Regions from separate parts of the Homo sapiens genome. Here all the other regions are linked to region 2. Evidence: promoter capture Hi-C in 16 types of primary human blood cells and fetal thymus (Javierre and others, 2016). All regions are on one chromosome and are shown on one strand. The core of a region is centred on a gene start or on the middle of the fragment in contact, and the rest is flanking DNA. Distances in the headings are between cores, read along the strand shown.

Region 1 (3,576 bases), core at 1,030-3,529, 140 kb before region 2:
CTAAAGTGTTGGGATTACAGGCGTGAGCCACCATGCCCGGCCTTTTTTTTTTTTTTTTTTTTTTCAACTACAGCTATTTTCCCACATTTTTTAGTTGTTATGTAGACTGGTTTTAAAATACTATCAACCAAAAAAAAAAAAAAATCCGAAGAACAACACCCACCATAGCAAAAGAGGAAAACAATCTTAAACAAAAAGCACAACAAAGATGACTATTTGTGATTGGTGTATTTTTGCCAGCCCTCCTAGAGAAGGGTGTCCATCTCCCTTCCCCATCACAGAACCTGTTCACCAAGTCAGTTAGGTTAGGGGATCCAAAAGGTCAGAGAAACACAGGAATGTACCTGAGGAACACAGCAATCATAGTATGCCCTTCTTTTTTAATCACCTGAAATCTGATAAAAACTAGCAATGAGAAGCTTTGAAGGAGAAAAGCAGTCATAAAAGAACAAGTAATCCTGGGGATAAGGAGTGGCAGACGAGGAAAGGAGTTAGGGGTGGATTGTGTGTCTTTCTAGACCTGGGTCATGTTTTAGCACCAGCCTACACTCCTAGCAGGCAATCACTGTAACTAATATTACAGAGCACCTACTCTGTATCTGGCCACATACTAAGCACATTCACCTTCATTACCTTGCTTTATTTTATTTATTTATTTATTTATTTATTTATTGAGACGGAGTCTCACTCTGTCACCCAGGCTGGAGTGCCGTGCCGCGATCTCGGCTCGGCTCACTGCAAGCTCCACCTCCCGGGTTCACGCCATTCTCCTGCCTCAGCCTCCTGAGTAGCTGGGACTACAGGCGCCCGCCACCACGCCCGGCTAATTTTTTTGTATTTTTACTAGAGACGGGGTTTCACCGTGTTAGCCAGGATGGTCTCAATCGCCTGACCTCGTGATCCGCCCGCCTCAGCCTCCCAAAGTGCTGGGATTACAGGCGTGAGCCACTGCGCACTGCCATTACCTTACTTTAAAAAGAAAATGATTAAGACCAGACTGGGTTGGGAGGAAAGTGAGAACTAGAAAAAGAGCCCCTAAGTAAGAACAGGAAAAGAAATTAAGAGAGAAATATGGGATGTCAGAAGGAATACAGTGGAGTCACAAGCTCTCTGGGAGGGGCTCGCAGGCTAAATTTCAGGATCATTGGCCCAGCCCCCAACATCATTCTGGACCTGCCAGACTAACAAACCAGTCCAAAGTGACTCCTAGATAACAATGCAGCCCAGACCAGCAGATAACGATGCACTGGCCTAAGCCTTCTGAGAATCCGGGACCTTCAGAGAGGCCTCAGAGATCATCTCATCTATAGCCCCTTCATCTTAACAATGAAGCCCAGGCTCAAAGAGAAGTGACTTGCCCAAGGTCACAGAGGCACAGCCAGGTCTAGACACAGGTCTCCTGGCTCCTGTTCTATAGTATTTCCCCTGCATGAAGCTGTTTCACAGCCCTCTGTCCTGGGCCACCCTCACCTGGGATGGGCCTGGGAGCCCAGCCATTTCTACAAGGTCAGGGAAGAAGGCCAAAGGTTAGTTGAGGGAAAGAGGAAAAGGGTTACTCAAGAAGGGAGGCTCAAAGAGGAATTCAAGTTTTAGAAAATGAAAGAAAGTGCAAAGAAGCAAAAAGACAACTCTACAAAAAATAACATAATAAGGGAGGTAGAGGTCAGAACCAACTGCCAAAAGATGGTGTAACCTGAACAGAAGCGTTTTCATCCTCCCATCATGCCCAGGTGGAGAGACTTGGAGAAACACCTATGATCTGCAAGGAACGTATCTACCTGTTCCAACAGACTTCAACATGAAAGGGTGCACACCGTGGGGAAACTCCCAACCACCAACAGATCCAGAAACAACCTCCAAAACCCAGCCCAGAGTCCCAAGGACAGCCACAGGCTGAGGTCCAATAAACATTCGAAGCCCCCCCAACCAATCTGACATCCCACTGGATCACTACCATAGCAACACAGTGGCAAAAGGTGCCCCTCAAGAGACCATCCCAGGTGTCCATCTGGCAGCTACCCCCTACCCCAGTTGCCAAAGCAACTCCTACCCTCCTATAGCACCTCAGGTAAGGGAGCTTGAAGGTACCTACCCTAGTCAAAATAAGCCCATGCACAAAGGGAGATCTTTGAGCTCAAAGCAGTAACTAAGGCCTCCCTATATAGATCACAGCTCCAGGGGCAGCGGACGCTCCGGAAATTGGAGGGTGGAGGGTGGAGGTCGCAACTTGCCTGGAGTGCCTGTAAGGTTGCTCAATTCTCCATTTCCATCCTCCCAGAACCCCTTTCTTCCCAACTCCCCCTTCTGTGTTCCTGTTTTCCTCCTCACTAGTTTTGGGATAACCCACACTACTGGGCCCCAGTGCCCTCTCCAAGAAATAACTATGTCTGGGATAGGGAAAACAGGGTCAGAGGTGACCTGCAGTAGGGGAATGAAAACCGTCACAAAGACATGGCCTTCCCTCTTCCACGCTGGAAAACCTCCGGCTCTTCTCAAAAATGGACCTCTCTTTGCCCAAGCCTCCGTCTCCCCCAGGTTCATCAGCCACAATCCCTCTTTCCACCTACCACACCCCTTTCCCGTTTCCCACTTCCCGTCTATTCCTAAAGCCCCCAACCCCAGGCTCCGGAACCCGTGTTCTGGTCCTTTGGAGCTTTTTCCTGGAGGCTTCATGCCCCACCTCGCTGCCATCTCTCCTATCCATTCTGCCTTCGCCCGGAACCCCACTCACAGCATCCCCCGTTTTCCTCCGCCAACCCCGGCCTCGATGTTCCTCCTCTTTTGAGTCTGCGGGTCCCGGATACCCTCTGGCCCCACAGGCCTCCTCCGGAGACCCTCCCTCCTTCCCCACCTTCCCGATCCTCCCGAAACCCTGGCCCCCGACTCTCCTCGGCGGGCCCCACCCCCTGAGCCCCCGGCCCTCAGGCCAGGCAGAGCCCGCAGTGGGGGGACGGGATTGGGAAAATAACAAATGGAGGCGGCGGCGGCAGGAGGGGGAACTGGGAGGGGTGGGGGTGGGGAGCCGCAGGCCGGAGCCCGGGCGGGACAGAACCCCGCGGGCCCGGGGCCCAGGCGGCCGCAGACCTTACCTGCTGGTAGCTCGGGACGGCTGGCTGGCTCCGAGCGGGATTCCGGGCTCCGGCGCCTCTGGGGGGCGGCGGCGGCAGCTCCCCCGCCCCCCTCTCCTCTTCTCGGCCTCAGTCGCCGCCGCGACGACGGCGGCGGCGGCCCCGACCCCCCCGGAGGGCGGCCCCCATCCCCCCTTTTCCCCGCCTGGCCCCAATCGCCCGCCGGCCCCCGGAGCAAACCCCGATCCCCGCTCTGCTCCCCACCTCCCCGGGCTCGCCGCCTCCCCCTGGCCGCCCGGAATGCCCCGGGCCGCGCCGCCCGCCCCCGCCGCGCCGCCCGGCCCCGCGGCCCGCCCGGCCCTCGGCGCGGTTCCGACCCGCCGCCGCCCGCGCCCGCCTAGCGCAGCCCGCACCCGCGCGATCCCGGGCCCCTCGGCCGCCTCGCCCGCGGCCCCCGCCCCTTCCCCGGCAGTCGGCTCCCTCTCCCCCCTCCTAGCCCCTCCCCGAA
Region 2 (3,445 bases), core at 554-3,053:
GTGGAGGCTGCAGTGAGTGGAGATCACGTCATTGCACTCCAGCCTGGGCAAGAGAGCGAGACTCCGTCTCAAAAATAATAATAAAAAATAAAACGTGCAAGACAATTGGTCTAGCCAATTGCCCTCAGCACCACCCCGCCATTACGGCCAGGGTCAGAGCCTAGGGCTGCCCCCAAGCTCTGTCTAGCACCAGTGGTGGGAGGAGTTTTTATCTAGATATAGACCTCTCCTATGTAAGTGCTCCCACATTGAAAGAGGGAAATCATCTCCCGAGTGTCTCTAACGCTGTCCTCAGGGGCTCTTTCATCTGACTTTGAGGGCGGCGGCCATTTTGTATCAGCCTACAGCATCTGATACAGCACAAGGAATTATTGGTCAAAATGTGAAGTAGCAGTGACTTCCCCCATCAGGCCCTGCTCTTAGCCTTGCCCCGATAAAAATGTCCACCACAAGAGCAGGGCATTCAGGAAGCACTATCCCACTCAGAGTGAAATCTTTGAATTATTGAGAACAGGGCCTTTCCGTTTTGAGGGATCAGAACGTACCCCAGGAAACCTCTCTCCCAGAAGAAGCCTATGAGGGGAAAGCAGAGGACACTGGGGATAGCACGGCTTCAAGGCCATGAGGTCTCAGGGGCTGGAAAGGTCTGAGGGCGGAAAGGCTGAGATGGCACAGGGCTTCCCTTCAGGAGGGACAGTGAGTCCTCACTCTCCCTCACACCCTGCCAGGCCCAGGAGGGGCTGCACATCCTTCTGTAACTCTCCCGGCCTCATGAGACCCCTACCACCAATTCTTTTCGAATCCGTTTCTTAAATGACATATTTATCTAAAGATATGTATCTGCAACTTTTAGGGCAATTCATACGCAAAAGCTCAGTTTCAACACTTTCTGAGAATTTTAGCTTTCCTATTTCATGAATCATTTTAAAGCTAACTAGAGTAGAAGTGCCTTTAGACATTGTTCAAAAATCTTAAAAGAGCAAAGAAGCAGACAAAAATTTAAAAATACACACAGAAACACAAAAGGTAGTTAAAAGAGACTATTACATAGATCATGCGACTTATGAAATGCTGCAAGTATGATATTTGGTGTCAATTTTTGGAGATTGTCCCGTTAAGGAAAATTGGTTTTGCAAGAATTTTCTCTAGACTAGATTCCACTTCTTTTGCTCTTTTTCTTGTTTTTATGTTTTTCCTCATCATTTCTTTTTTATAGGTTTCCTCCCACCTTATATTTATTTATTCTTTCTAATTTTTTCCCTCCCCTTCTTCACTCTTTTTCTCCTCTTTTCCCCTCTTCCAGTCTTCTCCCCTCAACTGCCCACGACTAGTTGCCTTCCACGCCTTTCCCAGCCTGGGATAGTCTCCAGTCTTCACTCCCTCTCTGATCTTGCTATTTAGGTCACTACTCCTCTAAGGAGCACCCATTGCTCTGGACACTGAGCTGTGCACGCTGGGGCTGCAGAGAGGAGTCTAGCACAGTCTCTGACCTCTGGAAGCTCACAGTTCCAGTGGGAAATCGCTGCTCATGACCAGTTCCAAGAGAAATGCAAGAGAAGGTGGCCAGAGCTGTGGGCAGACAACTGGGCAGAGCACATTCCTGTGCATCTGCCCCACGTTCCCCTCCCTCTCAGCTCCGGGGAAGGAAGCCGAGTCTGACCACCTTACCTCTGGGCTTGCGTCTTTCTTGCCCGCTGCTTCTCAAACAGGCGTATCTGTGTGAGGACTTGGAGCTCTGCAACCAGGAGCCCAGTGGGGAGGGTGCTTTGTTCCTTCTGCAGAGTCGTGCTTAAATGAAGAGAGACAGGAAGCCCGATGGCAAGGCTCCTCCACACCCTAGGCCTGGGCCGGCCCCAAACGTCACCAGCTGGAGCTGGGTTCCCCACCCCCCAGGCTCTCAGGGAACATGTCAAAGTGAAAATGCCAAAGTCAAGGGAAAAAGTTAAGCAGAATCAGGCTTAAATCAGGAGTCAAACTGTCACTGCCACTGTTAAGCGGCAAGAAAAAGATGGCAAGAAAGATTCCATTAGTGGTAGCGCCATGTCTGACCAGGCTGTGGGGAAAGAAGTGGGAGGCAGTTGGGGGCATATGGGAACAGCAGTGGTAAGCCCACAAACAGCTCCTTGCTCTGGGGCCCTGAGGGCATGTGTCCAGTGGGTGCCCCAGGGGTATCTGTGGAGGCTTTATAGGTGGCCCAGTGTGGAAGAGAGGGCGTGGGCTGAGCAGAGAATATCTGAGACACCAGGAGTGACTGTTAACCAGGCTCTGTTCCTCTAGGCGTCTCTGGCCAGGCCTCAGGTGCTTTCCTCTAGCCCGAATCTACCATGAACTCTCTATGTGAGTATCCGTCTGCCCATTGGACATCTCCACTGGGAAGCTCACCGGACATAGCAAACTCAACACACATCCCCAACTATGCATACCACCTGCATACTACCACCCTCCAAACCTGCTTCTCCAGGCTTCTCACTCAGTGAGGGGCTCACCATCCACCAACTTGCCCAAGCAAAATAAATTGGGTGTAATCTTTGACACCCCCTTCACCCAACTTCTCCCACGTATTTATTTACCAGTTCCTGTGGATGTTACCTTCTAAATGGCTCCAAAATCTACCCAAGTCACTCTGCACTACCACTACTGCCACCATGCCAATCCAAGATGCCAATATCATCCCTTGCTCGGACAACAGCTCCTGCCTCCTCACTGGTCGCCATTCTCCATACCACAGCCCAAGTGATCATTTAAAGATGCACATGTGAGTGTGCGTTTTCCAGTCTGAAAAAAGTGGGGCTGGGAGTGGTGGCTCATGCCTATAATCCCAGCATTTTAGGAGGCCGAGGTGGGGGGATCGCTTGAGCCCAGGAAGTTGAGGCTGCAGTGAACCGTGATTGCACCACTGCACTCTAGCCTGAGTGACAGAGTGAGAACCTGTCTTGAAAAGAAGAAAAGAAAAGAAAAGAAAAGAAAACTCTAGTTCAGCTTGCGACTCCAACAATTAACACAAGTACCCCTATTTGACAGCATTGTACTTCATCTGTAGCATATAGTACTGTGTGCTACTTCTCATTTCATGACACACCGTACTCAAGGGTTGAGATTTAATAAAATTAGTATTTACTGCTTCATTAAAGGCATTCTATATATATATATATATATATTTTTTTTTTTTTTTTTTTTTGAGAGGGAGTCTCACTCTGTTGCCCAGGCTAGAGTGCAGTGGCGTGATCTTGGCTCACTGCAACCTCTGCCTCCCGGGTTCAAGCAATTCTCCTGCCTCAGCCTCCCAAGTAGCTGGGGCTACAGGCATGCGCCACAATGCCCAGCTAATTTTTGTATCTTTAGTAGAGATGGGGTTTCACCATGTTGCCCAGGATGGTCTTGATCTCTCTTTTTTTTTTTTTTTTTTTTGAGACAGAGTCTTGCTTTGTCATCCAGGCTGAAGTGC
Region 3 (3,245 bases), core at 545-3,044, 200 kb after region 2:
GTGTAAAGTTTCTATTGTTCCCATTGTGATTGATAAATAGCTTGAGGGAGATATTTGAGACTATGTCAGTGTCCTGTTTCTCCTTAAACTTTCACACCGATATTAGTATTCGTCAGTGGACCTTGATTACAATGATTATTACTGTGGTGTTTGCCTAATGAGGTTTTATATTCTGACATTCTTTCTTTTTTACTTCTGCCTCCCGGGTTCAAGCTATTCTCTTGCCTCAGCCTCCCGAGTAGCTGGGATTACAGGTGCCTGCCACCACACCTGGCTAATTTTGTATTTTTAGTAGGCAGGGTTTCACCACGTTGGCCAGCTTAGTCTCGAACTCCTGACCACAGGTGATCTGCCCACCTCAGCCTCGCAAAGTGTTGGGGTTACAGGTGTGAGTCACTGCACCTGGCCTATTCTGACATTTTTCTATAAGAGTTAGGGTCTTGCTCTGTTGCCCAGGCTGGAGTGCAGTAGCACAGTCAGAGCTCATTATAACCTTGAACTCTTGGGCTCAAGTGATTCTCCTGCCTCAGCTTCCTGAGTAGCTGGGACTACAGGCGTGTGCCACCATTCCCAGCTAAATTTTTTTTTTTTTTTGAGATGGAGTTTCTTGCTCTGTTGCCCAGGCTAAAGTGCAGTGGTGCAATCTCTGCTCACTGCAACCTCTGCCTACCAGGTTCAAGCGGTTCTCCTGCCTCAGTCTCCTGAGTAGCTGGGATTACAGGTGTATACCACCACGCCTGGCTAATTTTTGTATTTTTAGTAGAGACAGGGTTTCACCGTGTTGGCCAGGCTGGTCTCGAACTCCTGATGTCAAATGATCCACCTGTCTCTGCCTCCCAAAGTGCTGAGATTACAGGCATGAGCCACTGCCCCCGGCTTAATTTTTTAAACTACATTTATGAATTGGAATTTAGGAGACACTTCTAATGGTGTTTTTGGTTCTTTTATTAGCACCGGGTGCTCAGCAGTTCTGCTTCTTGCTTTCCACTCGAGCTGGGGGCCTTGGAATCAATCTGGCCACTGCTGACACAGTTATTATCTATGACTCTGACTGGAACCCCCATAATGACATTCAGGTGAGCAGAGGCAGCAGGCAGCCTTAATAAGTAACATGTTATGCTAGAAAGGCATAGTGGCCTCTATGAGGGCTCCACCATCTGGAATTAGGTTTTTAAGTGAGAAACAACAGATTCTTTTTGTGTTGTTTACCTTATTGTAAGCCAGAGTTTGGTTAGCTGTGATCCTATTTTGGGTAACATGATAATAGAGGGTGGTGTCTGGAGGCAGGGGTGCAAAAGGAAGTTTCCTATGAATGTAGGCTGTGGACCTTGCCTTGTACTGAATTTAGAATATTATGTGGAAGTCAGGATAAGAGTGGCACCAGGAAAATACAATTTCTGGCTTTATTTCCTGTTCAACTCCAGGCCTTTAGCAGAGCTCACCGGATTGGGCAAAATAAAAAGGTAATGATCTACCGGTTTGTGACCCGTGCGTCAGTGGAGGAGCGCATCACGCAGGTGGCAAAGAAGAAAATGATGCTGACGCATCTAGTGGTGCGGCCTGGGCTGGGCTCCAAGACTGGATCTATGTCCAAACAGGAGCTTGATGATATCCTCAAATTTGGCACTGAGGAACTATTCAAGGATGAAGCCACTGATGGAGGTGAGGTAGTCAGGAACTTACGTTTTGGTGTGGGGCTTGGCCTCTCTAAAGGTTAGGGAGAATCTTTGATACCAAGGGTCTTGTGGGACTTGCTTTTTCCACTGCAGCTGCTGAAACTGACTTTGGGGATGTGGGCCCTTGATTTTTTATAGGAGGAGACAACAAAGAGGGAGAAGATAGCAGTGTTATCCACTACGATGATAAGGCCATTGAACGGCTGCTAGACCGTAACCAGGATGAGACTGAAGACACAGAATTGCAGGGCATGAATGAATATTTGAGCTCATTCAAAGTGGCCCAGTATGTGGTACGGGAAGAAGAAATGGGGGTGAGTATGAATCCAAGGCAATCCTGTGCTTGGTAATTGGTCTGAAAATTGGCATTGAGACCAAGGTGGTATTTGAGACAAGTGGAAAATATCTGTAGGCAAATTCTTATGTTGATGAATTGATCCTCTTCCTTTGAAAACAAAGCTGATAACATGACTAATCAGATTTTCATCTTTGCCTTGGTTGTCAGAAAACTTACAACCAAATATCATGCTCACAACAGTTATTTTGGCTCTTTACCAGAATGTCATTTTCTCCTATGTGTTTTATTAAACCTTACAAATGAAATTTTGAATGCTACCTCATCTCTCTAGAGAAAAGGCAGAAGATCCTAGGTAATCTATCTCTTTGTGTTTTCTGGTTTTTATTTAAGAGACAGGGTCTCTACCAGGTGCAGTGGCTCACATCTGTAATCCCAGCACTTTGGGAGGCCGAGGCAGGCAGATCACTTGAGGCCAGGAGTTTGAGACCAGCCCGGCCAACACGGTGAAACCCCGTTTCTACTAAAAATAAAAAAATTAGCCAGGCACGATGAAGCACACCTGTAGTCCCAGGTGTTCGGGAGGCTGAGGCAGGAGAATTGCTTGAACCCAGGAGGCGGAGGTTGCAATGAGCTGAGATTGCGCCACTGCATTCCAGCCTGATGACAGAGCCAGACTGTGTTTGAAAAAAAAAAACAACAAAAAAAGAGACAGGGTCTTGCTCTGTCACCCAGGCTAGAGTGCAGTGGCACAATCATAGCTGAGTGCAACCTTAAACTCTTGGGCTGAAGAGTGACCCTAGTAGATGTGTGCTACCACACCTGGTTAATTTTTTAAATGTTTTTAGAGATGTCTTGCTATGTTGCCCAGGATGGTCTTGAACTCCTGGCCTTAAGCAGTTCTCCTGCCTTGACCTCCCAAAGTGCTGGAATTACAGGTGTTAGCCACCACACCAGGCCTCCTTGTGTATGTATGTATGTATGTATTTATTTATTTATTTTGAGATGGAATCTCACTCTCTCCCCCAGGCTGGAGTGCAGTGGTGCGATCTTGGCTCACTGCAAGCTCTGCCTCCCGGGTTCATGCCATTCTTCTGCCTCAGCCTCCCGAGTAGCTGGGGACTACAGGTGCCTGCCTCCACACCCAGCTAATTTTTTTTGTATTTTTAGTAGAGATGGGGTTTCACTGTGTTAGCCAGGATGGTCTCGATCTCCTGACCTTGTGATCCACCCACCTCTGCCTCCCAAAGTGCTGGGATTACAGGCGTGAGCCA

Evidence for each region. The method cuts DNA at HindIII sites, captures the fragments that hold promoters and counts their contacts. A CHiCAGO score of 5 or more calls a contact.
Region 1: a fragment that was not itself captured here is called in contact with the fragment with the promoter of CD4 in region 2 in 1 of 17 cell types (non-activated CD4 T cells); the score reaches 5.6 in non-activated CD4 T cells.
Region 3: a fragment that was not itself captured here is called in contact with the fragment with the promoter of CD4 in region 2 in 8 of 17 cell types (naive CD8 T cells, total CD4 T cells, total CD8 T cells and 5 more); the score reaches 11.7 in naive CD8 T cells.

What each region holds. Positions count from the first base shown.
Region 1 is chr12:6,927,898-6,931,473 of GRCh38, reverse strand. It overlaps ATN1 (atrophin 1), which reads right to left and starts at 3,515. Exons shown (of 10, transcript NM_001940.4): 1 at 3,090-3,515. RefSeq lists a silencer at 3,517-3,576. The HindIII fragment of the contact is 3,716 bases long and covers 422-3,576 here.
Region 2 is chr12:6,787,886-6,791,330 of GRCh38, reverse strand. It overlaps CD4 (CD4 molecule), which reads right to left and starts at 1,803. Exons shown (of 10, transcript NM_000616.5): 1 at 1,669-1,803. RefSeq lists enhancers at 1,897-1,946, 1,762-2,319. The HindIII fragment of the contact is 6,468 bases long and covers 1-3,445 here.
Region 3 is chr12:6,586,129-6,589,373 of GRCh38, reverse strand. CHD4 (chromodomain helicase DNA binding protein 4) reads left to right here. Exons shown (of 40, transcript NM_001273.5): 23 at 952-1,076; 24 at 1,425-1,662; 25 at 1,815-1,990. Among named protein-coding and RNA genes, the nearest start is that of CHD4-AS1, 19 kb to the right of the region's middle. The HindIII fragment of the contact is 7,516 bases long and covers 1-3,245 here.